Regions from separate parts of the Homo sapiens genome. Here region 1 is linked to region 2. Evidence: promoter capture Hi-C in 16 types of primary human blood cells and fetal thymus (Javierre and others, 2016). All regions are on one chromosome and are shown on one strand. Each heading gives the region's core, a stretch centred on a gene start or on the middle of the fragment in contact. The rest is flanking DNA. Distances are from core to core; before and after follow the strand shown. Region 1 overlaps STAU1 (staufen double-stranded RNA binding protein 1). Region 2 holds the start of STAU1 (staufen double-stranded RNA binding protein 1).

Region 1 (5,907 bases), core at 2,439-4,938, 70 kb after region 2:
GATGTGCTGGAACATGTTTAACAACCAGCTCTTCTTCGGGGAGGGTGGTTTGGTGGAATGAGCTGAATATGTATGTTATAGATATATACATGGGTGTTATATACATGTGTGTTATAAATTTTACTGACACAAAGGATGTGTGTTATAAATTATACTGACATATATGTGTGTTTTATAAATTTTACTGACAGAAAGGATGTGTAGTACAATTTATAAATAATATACACTTTATTGTAAATTTCATACATATTTCAGTGTGACAGTTACCAACGATAGTGTTATAAAATCAGACAGCACATAATGGTTTATTACTATCCAGTTCAGCAAAGGTGTTGCTCATGTCACTGACAAATACATACTGTAGATTTGAGATTTTGGTTGTAGCATGAATACTGGTTGAGATACATTTTTTTTGGGGTAGAGGGGAATGGAGTCAACTTGCTCTGTTGTCCAGGCTGCAGGGCAGTGGTGTGATCTCGGCTCACTGCAACCTCTGCCTCCCAGGTTCAAGTGATTCTCCTGCCTCAGCCTCCCGAGTAGCTGGGATTCACGGGTGCCCACCATCACGCCCAGCTACTTTTTGTATTTTTAGTAGAGATGGGGTTTCACCATGTTGGCCAGACTGGTCTCGAACTCCTGACCTCAGGTGATCCACCCACCTCAGCCTCCCAAAGTGCTGGGATTACAGGCGTGAGCCACCACGCCCGGCTGGTTGATGTTTTTTATTTATGTTAATAGGTAAGATGAAAGTAAAACAGGCTGGGCTTGATGGCTTACGCCTGTAATCCCAGCATGACGGATCACTTGAGGTCAGGGGTTCGAGACCAGCCTGACCAACATGGTGAACCCTCATTTCTGCTAAAAATAGAAAAGTTAGCCAGGCATGGTGGCACACGCCTGTAATCCCAGCTACTCGGGTGGCTGAGGCAGGAGAATCGCTTGAACCTGGGAAGTGGAGGTTGCAGTGAGCTGAGATCATGCCATTGCACTCCATCCTGGGTGAAGAAGTGAGACCCTGTCTATCCCAAAAAAGAAAAAAGAAAAAGTGAAACAATGAAGACATGTAACATCACTCATTTGTAAATGATATGAGTGGCTTCTCTGCAAAATTAGATAATTTTCAAAGACGGGAAGATATTTCAGTTTTTTGTGCTAGTTACAATGTAATGGCTGCAGACTTCTCATGCTTTTAAGATTAACCTGCTTTATTAACCTTTTCATCATTGTAGGTTTAGAGTTAGACAATAAACAGCTTATGATCTTTGATACGTAGCATTTGTATATTTCTGTGGTATAAATAGTCCCACCATGGCTGATTTCAAGCTCTCAAAGTGATACTTCCAATGGCAATGCTGGGAATAGATGTACAGTAGTTCACCATCACAGACTGTTTCCATTGTACAAATGCAATAGCTGGGCAGACCCTCAGAACACAGATGATTATAAAATGCAGTCAAAAATTACCTCTGTTAAAATAATTATCAGCTTATATAATTAAATGTTTAATACTGGCTGTGTTTAACAGCCAGCTTCCCAAACTCCTGACTATTTAATAATTAGCTCTCAGAGACAAGGAGGCCAGGTTCGGGGCACTGCTGTTATCTTGCTTCTGACCATAGTTGGTTATTTTGCTGACACACCAATTCCTGCCTGGTTGTTATTCTGAAGGTTTAAGCACTGGTCTGTGTTTTGACTTCTTTGTGCAGGTGAAGGTTGGAAACCACACTGCAGAAGGAACGGGCACCAACAAGAAGGTGGCCAAGCGCAATGCAGCCGAGAACATGCTGGAGATCCTTGGTTTCAAAGTCCCGCAGGCGCAGCCCACCAAACCCGCACTCAAGTCAGAGGAGAAGGTGAGTGCTGTGGGCTCTCTGATTGCAAGATGGTCTCTCGCCTCACCCTAGGGAACTGGGGCACCTCCAGGGGCAGGCTTCAAGGCAAGGCTTTATCTGCCTGACAGTTCAAGGAGTCCTGCTGAGGAGTGTCTCATCCATTTGGACCATAATGTGCTCAGAGGGGCCTCGCATGTCCACTGGCCCCAGGAGGCTCTGGGTTAGATCGTTGATTGTGTCAGTATCTTTGTGGTCTGGGGACGCTTTGTGGAGGGCAGCTTGCTCCTCTCTATTTGTAGGATGAGGATGAAGGGTAATTAGGACTGAAATTACTAAGTGTGATTTGCACTCTAGAAATGAAGCCTGTGTGAAAGATTTATAACTGTTAGGCTTTCGTTAATTGTGGAATAGGCTTTGATTTTTCTGGCAAAATAAGACAGTGTGACAGTAGAGACAGGCCAAATCCAAAGTTTAGGTTTGGGATTTCTTTTTTCCTATGTGAGTTAAACATCAGATGAAAATAATCCCCTGTTGAAAAATTCACGGCCAGGTGTGGTGGCTCAAACTTGTAATTTGGGAGGCTGAGGCCTTGAATCCAGGAGTTCAAGACCAGTCTGAGCAACATGATGAAACCCTGTCTCTACAAAAAATTAAAATATCAGCCAGGTATGGTGGCTTGTACCTGTAGCCCGAGCTACAAGGCTGAGATGGGAGGATTGAGCCTTGGAAGGTCAAGGCTGCAGTGAGCTGTGATCATGCCACTGCACTCAGCCTGGGCGACAGACCCTGTCTCAACAACAACAAAAAAGGAACGTAAAAAGAAAAATTCGTGTCTGCCAGAAGTGGTAAGCAGGACCTCAGCAAAAGCCATGGCTGACCTTCTTCTTTCCCATCACTGAATGGTCCTGGTGAGATAAACTTGAAATCAGGCCTGATTCATTCATGTCTGCCAGTCATATTGACAGAAACAGCATCAGTCATGGCCAGTTAATAACTGACTGGGACCCCAGATACCACCAGTATAGATCTTAGACTTGGCTTTAGGGTTTTTCATTTCAGAATCTTGTAGGACATTCAGAGTGTCCTTTGTTACTTCTTAGAAAGGTGATGTTGTGTTAGACAAAATTCTTAGGTAATAACATTTTCCCCGTAAGGGTGTTAATTTTGGAATGTCACCTTATTTTTTAATTGGATATCAGCTCCAGGAAATATTCTTGATTTATTTGTTTAGCTTCAGTCTGAAAGCTTCTTTCCCCACCTTGGTGGGCTCTACCGTCTAGCATCTCTGCTCTTTCTGGTTAAATGCTTCCCGTCTTCCTGTGGGTGCAGAGTGCAGCTCAGCATTCACAGGTTAGTGCACTTTGTTAGATGCTCTTTGTGGGCAGGGGTGTGGGCAGGAGGGTGCATTAGGAGAAGGAGGCAGGCTCTGCCCAGGTGTCTGTCAGGGTGCCAGTGGTCAGGTGGGGCAGGGTTTTTCTGCCGATTGCCACAGTTATTGCTGACTGGACTTTGTGTAGATTTAGACAGCAGGAGCTAATTTTTCAGTGATCTGATTTATGCTCATGGCCTTTTTTTTTTCTTCTTCTTTTTTAAGACACCCATAAAGAAACCAGGGGATGGAAGAAAAGTAACCTTTTTTGAACCTGGCTCTGGGGATGAAAATGGGACTAGTAAGTGTGATCTTAATATCGTCTTCCTCTGAACGTGATTCTGGGATTTGCATGGGTCCTGAATAACAGCAGGAGCCCAGCCAGTGAGGTCCCGCATGCAAAGTGTCTTTATCATTCCCTGATTCCCTGCGCTGCCATGCGTGCCAAGGGGAGGGCCAGCGTGGGGTTTGATGGTGTCATTGCGTTTTTCCAGGCTGTGGATGTGGATTCGTGTTTACCGTGTATGTCCCTCCCAGGTAATAAAGAGGATGAGTTCAGGATGCCTTATCTAAGTCATCAGCAGCTGCCTGCTGGAATTCTTCCCATGGTGCCCGAGGTCGCCCAGGCTGTAGGAGTTAGTCAAGGACATCACACCAAAGATTTTACCAGGGCAGCTCCGAATCCTGCCAAGGCCACGGTAACTGCCATGATAGCCCGAGAGTTGTTGTATGGGGGCACCTCGCCCACAGCCGAGACCATTTTAAAGAATAACATCTCTTCAGGCCACGTACCCCATGGACCTCTCACGAGACCCTCTGAGCAACTGGACTATCTTTCCAGAGTCCAGGGATTCCAGGTAACTGTCTGGCCTGAGCTGTGATGGCTGTGCCTCAGGACAGTCATCTTTTGGCTTCTCTCAGAAAATGAACTTTGAACTTTGTACTTTTTTCTTAAATCAAGTTCTGTCCAGGGATGGGCTGGGGAGCAGTGATGGAAGGGTAGGAGGTATAGAAGTATTGTAAGCATATGTGGTAAGAGAAATATCTTTATCCTTTGGTAGTAAGATTTCAACATGCAAGCCAACCCTAAAAGCTTCTAACCACTAGCAGTGGTTGTAAATTTGGATTTCAAAGAACAGACTCATCGTGCTGACACTTTCTGTCTGGTAGGAAAGGATATGGCTTCTCCCAGTCTTGGGCTTCTGAGCAGACACCTAGGTTCCTGGAAGGTTCTGGGCTGACAGGGCAGGTGTTAGTATGGCCACAGTGGGGCTGAGTTGGAAAAAAGAGCTGGTGATCTTGCTTGTGGGGCCTGGAGCTGCAGCCCTCCAGCCCACTCATACTTGCTGTTCCCTACCTAGCCTCAGCTCTCTTTTCCCCCTTAGGTTGAATACAAAGACTTCCCCAAAAACAACAAGAACGAATTTGTATCTCTTATCAATTGCTCCTCTCAGCCACCTCTGATCAGCCATGGTATCGGCAAGGATGTGGAGTCCTGCCATGATATGGTACGTCACACCTTGGGTGAGGGATTGGGGTGTTGTGTGTTTATGTGGAGCCTGCCTTGGTTCAGCTTGTTACTAGCCTGAGGAAGATGGGAGAAAGATTGTCCCATAGACCTTGAGAGCAATGAATCGTTTGATAGTGTTCATATTTTTGAAGACTTTTTGTCATAGCTGATTGGATCGATTTCTCACTCTTGATCAGAACTCATCAGCTTTAGCCCACCTTTCCCTTCCTTTTCCCTGCTGGCCTGGAGGGGCAACTGGGATCCTGCAGCTCACCCAGAGACTGCACTCACTTCATCTCTCACCAGAACAAGGAATTGCAGGTCCACGTTCTGGCAGCTGTAAAAACCACTTGCTTTGGTCTTCTGTTCAGATGAAATTATTGTTATAAGAAAACTGAGAAAAGGAATTGATCAGATCAACAAATCTAAGTAAACTGTGATGTATTCACTTGATGGGATGTCATGCATGCATGAAATTAATGTCTCTGGGTGGGGTGTGGTGGCTCACACTAATCCCAGCACTGCGGGAGGCTGAGGCAGGCGGATCACCTGAGCTCAGGAGTTCAAGACCAGCCTGGCCAACGTGGTGAAACCCCATCTCTACTAAAAATACAAAAAAAAATTAGCCAGGTGTGGTGGTGGGTGCCTGTAATCCCAGCTACTTGGGAGGCCAAGGCAGGAGAATCGCTTGAACCCGGGAGGTGGAGGTTGCAGTGAGCCAAGATTGCACTACTGCACTCCAGCCTGGGCAGCTGGGTGAGACTGCGTTTCAAAACAAAACAGTGTCTCCGAAGATAATGTAATAAGAAGAAAAATACATGATAGGCCGGGTGTGGAGGCTCACACCTGTAATTCCAGCACTTTGGGAGGCCAAGGTGGAAGGATCGCTTGAGCCTAGGAGTTTGAGACCAGCCTGGGCAACTTAGTGAGACCCTGTCTCTATAGAAAGAAAAATACATGATAGATTTTTGTTAGAAAGCAGGATATAACATTTATACAGTCTGGTTACCACATGGTTAAAAATACTAGAAGGAAAAATATAACATTTTCAGAGGTTATGATTCAGTGAGGTAACTGAATATTTTTTAATTTGTATTTTAAATTAAAAATTCAAAGTTTTATTTAGTAGTACCAGAGTTGAAGAAGTTGCCACCTGTTTGCTGGGCAGCAGGAACTCTCTTGCCTGCCTGACCAGT
Region 2 (5,957 bases), core at 1,439-3,938:
AAAATAAATGTCTCACAGGGCTTTTATGAGCTTTGCATCAGAGAGCCGAGATCACACCATTGCACTTCAGCTTGGGCAACAGAGTGAGATTCTGTCTCAAAAAAAAAAAAAAAAAATTCAGCATCTCACAGGGCTTTTATGAGTTTTGCATGTTCCCATTCCTTAGTACAGATGCACATAATTTATCTTGTGAGAAGGAACACACATAATTTATCGTAACATACTTAATGCTCACAGTTTCTTGTGAACCAAGAACACACAGCTTCCATCTTTTTCTCAAGGTAAAGAAAAATGATTCCTTAATTACTTAGCAAGACTCAAGAGGTCTTCAGGACCTTGGAAGAGAACTTGACTGATAGTTTCTAGGTACAAACAGAAGAAAACAAATCTAGGTGACCTACTCCTGGTCAGGTATGGTGGCCCACACCTGGAATAATCCCCCCAGTACTTTGGAAGATTGAGGCAAGAGGATTGCTTGAGCCTAGAATTTGAGACCAGCCTGGTCAACTTAGTAACTTAGTAAGACCCTGGGCAACTTAGTAAAACCCTGTCTCTATAAAAAATTAAAAAATTAGCTGGGAGTGGTGGCACATGCCTGTGGTCCCAGCTACTCAGGAGGCTGAGGTAGGAGGATTTCTTGAGCTCAGGAGGTTGAGGCTGCAGTTAGCTGTGCTCATGCCACTGCACTCTAGTTAGGTGACAGAGCGAGACCCTGTCTCAAGAAAAAAACAAAAAAGATGCGGAAGGAGGAAAGAGGGAAGAAAATTGAGACTGGAAGTCATAGACCCACCACTTTTGTCCCTATGGGTGATAGCAAAATCACCTTTGACGAGATTGTCTGATTGTGCGCAGCTTTGGGTTTAGGGAGACCTCTCTGCATCTGCTCCTTTACCCAAGGAGGTATGGGATCCACACTGCTTGGAAGTTAGAAAGAAAAGATCACTTTTAGCAGAGGGCTGGACAATATCTGAATGTTGCTTACTACTGTCTTGGATGGGCACTAAAGGGACGGTGAAAGTCCTTTGACTATTTTTGGTGTTCTGAAATTCAGTGTCATTGCACTTCACAAGAAGCAATGTAAGGAGGCAAGTGTCCTCCCAGGCTTCGCTAAGGCTCCAAAGCCTTGTTTGGAGGGGCCTCTTCAGACACAGCAGCTCGTATTTTGAATTTATATTCCGTTGGCAAGAGAGATTGAGCAATTATTAGATTGAGAGACATTTAAGAAAGAGAGAATTATTTTTAAATAGTGGGGCGGCAGTCCCAGAGTGAGCGGGAGAGAGAAGCTCTGTGCACCTGCAGTTCCTTCATTCATTCTCAGTTTCTTGGACCTCTCACAACGCGAGCATAATTTTCGCTGAGTGTGCAGAAGTTCAAGATTCTTTTTTTTTTTTTTTTTTTTTTTGAGACAGAGTCTCACTCTGTTGCCCAGGTTGGAGTGCAATGGCGTGATCTCGGCTCACTGCAACCTCCGTCTCCCGGGTTCAAGAGATTCTCCTGCCTCAGCCTCCCAAGTAGCTGTGATTACAGGCGCCCACCACTGCATCCGGCTAGTAGAGACGGGGTTTCACCATGTTAGTCAGGCTGGTCTCGAACTCCTGACCTCAGGTGATCCGCCCACCTCGGCCTCCCAAAGTGCCGGGATTACAGGCGTGAGCCACTGCGCCTGGCCAAGATTCTTTACTGGCCACCCTCTCTCCAACCTCCCATACAATACAGCTGCTAAAAACCACTTAGTTTATCTAGGTCTGGGTGAAATAAATAGTAATCTGGCACTTCTCGTCTTTTTTTTTTTTTTTTTTTTTTTTTTTTTTTTTTTTTTTGAGACCAGTGTCTCTTTGTCGCCAAGGCTGGAGTGCAGCGGCGCGATCTCAGCTCACTGCAATCTCCGCCTCCCGGGTTCAAGCGATTCTCCTGCCTCAGCCTCCCGAGTAGCTGTTTACCTACAGGCGCCCGCCACCACGCCCGGCTAATTTTTTGTATTTTCAGTAGAGACGGGGGTTTCACCGTGGTAGCCAGGATGGTCTCGATCTCTTGACCTAGTGATCCGCCCGCCTCGGCCTCCCAAAGTGCCGGGATTAGAGGCCTGAGCCAACGCGCCCGGGCCATTGTCTTTTATCTCACTACACATTTTTCAATTTTATTTATTGTGTATTTTACTTACACAAGAATGTAAGCTCCACGAGGGCAGGGATTTTTGTCAGTTCACCACTACATTCTTAGCTCTTGGAGCAATGCCTTGCATATGGCAAGCATTTAATGAACATTTACAGATGGAGGAAGAAACAACTGCAGGAAGGAGAGAAAGGAAGGCCAGAGGCAGGACAAGAGGAAGAAGCGACAGCAAGGAAGGAAAAAGGAAGTGGAGGAGGAAAGAAGGTAGGCTGGGTTCTCCCAGACCCGCTTCGAGTCCAGCAGGCAGCGCGAAACTCCCACCAGAACTACAACTCCCGGCAGGCCCCGGGACTCAGGACGGGCCGCTGCGGTCCAGGCGGGACAGGGCGCTCCTCCCGCTGGGCCCCCGGCGTGCCTTGCGAGCGCAGGCTCCGCCGCAGTGCCAGCCGGAACTTGTGGTTCGGACCGTGGGTGGGGGTGGGGCCGGGGCCGGGCCTGGAGGCGGGCGGGGGCCGGGGGCGGGCGCCTGCCCCTCCCCCGTCACTTCCTGCCGGGCTGCGGGCGCCTGAGCGGCTCTTCAGCGTTTGCGCCGGCGGCTGCCGCGTCTCTCTCGGCTCCCGCTTCCTTTGACCGCCTCCCCCCCCCGGCCCGGCGGCGCCCGCCTCCTCCACGGCCACTCCGCCTCTTCCCTCCCTTCGTCCCTTCTTCCTCTCCCTTTTTTCCTTCTTCCTTCCCCTCCTCGCCGCCACCGCCCAGGACCGCCGGCCGGGGGACGAGCTCGGAGCAGCAGCCAGGTGAGGCGGCCGGGCCGGGCCGGGCCTGGTGGGGCCCTCGCGGGCGCCGCCGCGGTGGGGAGGTGGGCGGCGGGTGGGGCCTAGGCCTCGGCGGGCCCGCGCACCCCTCCGCCTTCTCCCGGGCCTCTCTCTAGCCCGCGGGGCCTTCCCGGAGGAGGCGGGTCCTCTTGCGTTCCCTCGCCTCGGGGCGCCCTGAGGCCTGGCCCCGGGCGCCCCCATCCCCTCCAGCCCTCACCGGTGCCACAAACAGGTGCTGCGGCCGCCTTTCCTCGTCCCGCATGGCGCGCGCGGGGATGCCGAAGTTATTCCCGGGGCTGGGGCGCAGGCGGGGGGGGGGGGGGGTCCCTGCTTCAGGTCCCCGAGGGCTGGAGCCTCTCAGTGTCGCCGGCCCAGGTCTGTAGCTTAGTGGTTAAGAGCACGGCCCAGGTGTCCAAAACGGGTGCCGAACCCGGCTCTGCCCCGTTAGGCAAGACACTTAAAAAGTCTTTGTGTCTTGGTTGGAAAAGGGGCTGCTAATACCGTCCCTGCCTCTTAAGGTTCAGTGAAATGGGGCGTGTAAAGCGCTTATCAGAGTGCCAGACCCACAGCGTGTCCCAGTAAACCGTCTGCATAATTTATTAGCGTGATATGAAGGTATAATTTAATGGGCAGAGTGGATAGAAGTTGACCTACCTATCCGTTTGGGTTTCTTAGAGGCTGCAGTGTTCCGCGTGCCCATGTCCAGAGCCAGGGCATTGTTTTCAGTTGTTAACATCTGAAAGGGGCGTACGCTTAATTGGGACACTGTAGTTGACAGTCTGTAAACGATGGATGCTGTTTCTTTCCATCTCCGCTTAGGCAACTGCAGGATATTCACCATCTCCCGCAGGATGAGCAACCTGTCCATTTCTCCCCGCCCCGCCATCATCCAGCTTCTTCTTGTCATTCCATTTCTGGGAAAGTTGCTGGCAGAAGCTTCCCTTGAGTTGAGCAAACCTATCTAGAGCACTTGCTGTGTGTTGGGCTCTGAAGGGGGGTGTACGGAGATGGAAAAATTTGTCTGTCTTGTCTTGCTCTACACCTCGATAAGTTTTTTTTCACGGAAGCTTTGCTTATATTCACCCCTCCCTGTTGGCTGACTTTCCTTTTAAGCCCTTGCCCCGCCTCCGTGTTGCAGTATTGCTTGTGTGGAAGTTTTCTTCTGTTCCGCGAAGATACGTGCTTCAGTCTGTTCTGCCACTGTTCTTCGGCTGTGTGGAAGTTTTTAAGGTCACACTTCTCTTCTGCTTGTAGCTTTCATTGTTAAGAGCGTGGTGGAGTTAAATCAGGTTCCCGGTTGATTTTGGCGTTTCAGGAATCCGTGCTTACCAAGTGTAAATTGCATTGCTACTTGTTGAGGTAAAAACTAAAAATACAGTTGGAGTGTAGAGGGAGCAGTTTCGGTTATCCTGGTGACAGGTGGGATTTTTAGAACAGCAACTTTACTAAAACATACTGGGTTTTTAAAAATTCTGTACTTAGTTTTATAGGTGTACTCTAAGGAAATGCAACTTATGGGTGTTCAATTTTATATGAGTAAGGAGTGTGTGTTTACCTGAGTGATCCTCCTGTATCTTAGGATTGTTTTAGGCATTAAATTTCCTTAGTGAACTGAAACTATTTTGATTTATACCCATCTCTTAACACACATGCGGCAAAGTGGCCTCCTTGTTTTTGACATTTTCCTAGAATTTTCTGACAGTCTTACCATTGTTTGTAATTTAAAATGTTTGTTTGAATTTTTTTTTTTTTTTGAGACAGTCTCACGCTGTCGCCCAGGCTGGAGTGCAGTGGCGCGATTTCGGCTCATTTCAACCTCTGCCACCCTGGTTCAAAAGATTCTCCCGTCTCAGCCTCCCGAGTAGCTGGGATTACAGACGCCCGCCACCGCGCCGTGTTAATTTTTGTAGTTTTCGTAGAGACGGGGTTTTGCCATGTTGGCCAGACTGGTCTCGAACTCCTAACCTCGTGATCCACCCTCCTAGGCCTCCATAAGCAGGTTAGGCGCGGTGGCTCACGCCTGTAATCCCAGAACTTTTGGGAGGCCGAGGCGGGTGGATCACGAGGTCAGGAGATGGAGACTATCTCTTGAGCCTGGTGTGGTGGCGGGCGCCTGCAGTCCCAGCTACTCCCGAGGCTGAGACAGGAGAATCGCTTGAACCCGGGAGGTGGAGGTTGCCTGGGCGACAGAGAGAGACTCTCTCCAAAAAAACAAAACAAAAAAAACACATAAGCAAACAACTATACAAGCAGTATAAAGCATGTCTAATACTGCCATATCACAATGGCATATTTCAATAGGGAAATGGTATTTTAAATACCATTTTTTAAAAACCTTTTATTCTGGAAAACATGCGAAACTCGAATAGTATGGAGAACCCCATGTGTTAGTCACTCACTTAGCTTTGACAATTATTAACTCATAGCCAAGGTCGGTTTTGTTTCATGTTGTATCCCCCCACACAAACTAGATTATTTTGAAACAAATCTTAAACATTGTGTCACAACATTAGCGATTTTGACTTTTACCAGATTGCCCCAGATTAAGGTCACAAAATTTACTTTTAGTAGAATAATAGTTCTCATTTTTGTTTGTTGGGCTTCCCTTCTCTGTTTATACATGATTTCTGTACAGCAGAAAAGAAGAAGAAAATTAACTCTTGATCCAATGCCTTCAGCTCCTCAAAATCAAAATACAACCTTGCTGCTTTATTGTGTACAAAAGCAAAAATTCTTGAGCTATTAATGACTATAATTGAAAAGCGAACAAATACAGATTTCCCCAGTCCTGTTTTGGCAGAGACCTGCCTTTTAACCCACTTTAATAGAGATAACTTTGTGTCAAAGTTAAACTACAGTTAATAATTCATAATGAAAACTTAAAATGTTTCTTTACAGTAGTTGTGTAAAGATACTGCTGTTACCTTAGGTTAAGAATTAAGCAAAAGATAATCTTCTAACATAGAATTGTTTTCCAAAGTGCCCCCGTCTGCCCTATTTCCAAATAACAAATTTAGCAAATATGAATGAAAC

Evidence for each region. The method cuts DNA at HindIII sites, captures the fragments that hold promoters and counts their contacts. A CHiCAGO score of 5 or more calls a contact.
Region 1: a contact is called between a fragment that was not itself captured here and the fragment with the promoter of STAU1 in region 2, in 2 of 17 cell types (naive CD4 T cells and activated CD4 T cells). The highest score is 5.4, in naive CD4 T cells.

The regions. Positions count from the first base shown.
Region 1 is chr20:49,115,928-49,121,834 of GRCh38, reverse strand. STAU1 (staufen double-stranded RNA binding protein 1) reads left to right here. Exons shown (of 14, transcript NM_017453.4): 9 at 1,707-1,853; 10 at 3,427-3,502; 11 at 3,739-4,058; 12 at 4,587-4,709. Among named protein-coding and RNA genes, the nearest start is that of STAU1, 69 kb to the left of the region's middle. RefSeq lists a silencer at 3,921-4,078. The HindIII fragment of the contact is 1,217 bases long and covers 3,080-4,296 here.
Region 2 is chr20:49,185,065-49,191,021 of GRCh38, reverse strand. It overlaps STAU1 (staufen double-stranded RNA binding protein 1), which reads left to right and starts at 2,688. Exons shown (of 14, transcript NM_017453.4): 1 at 2,688-2,906. RefSeq lists silencers at 2,415-3,084, 3,315-3,474 and an enhancer at 3,875-3,944. The HindIII fragment of the contact is 4,529 bases long and covers 1-3,862 here.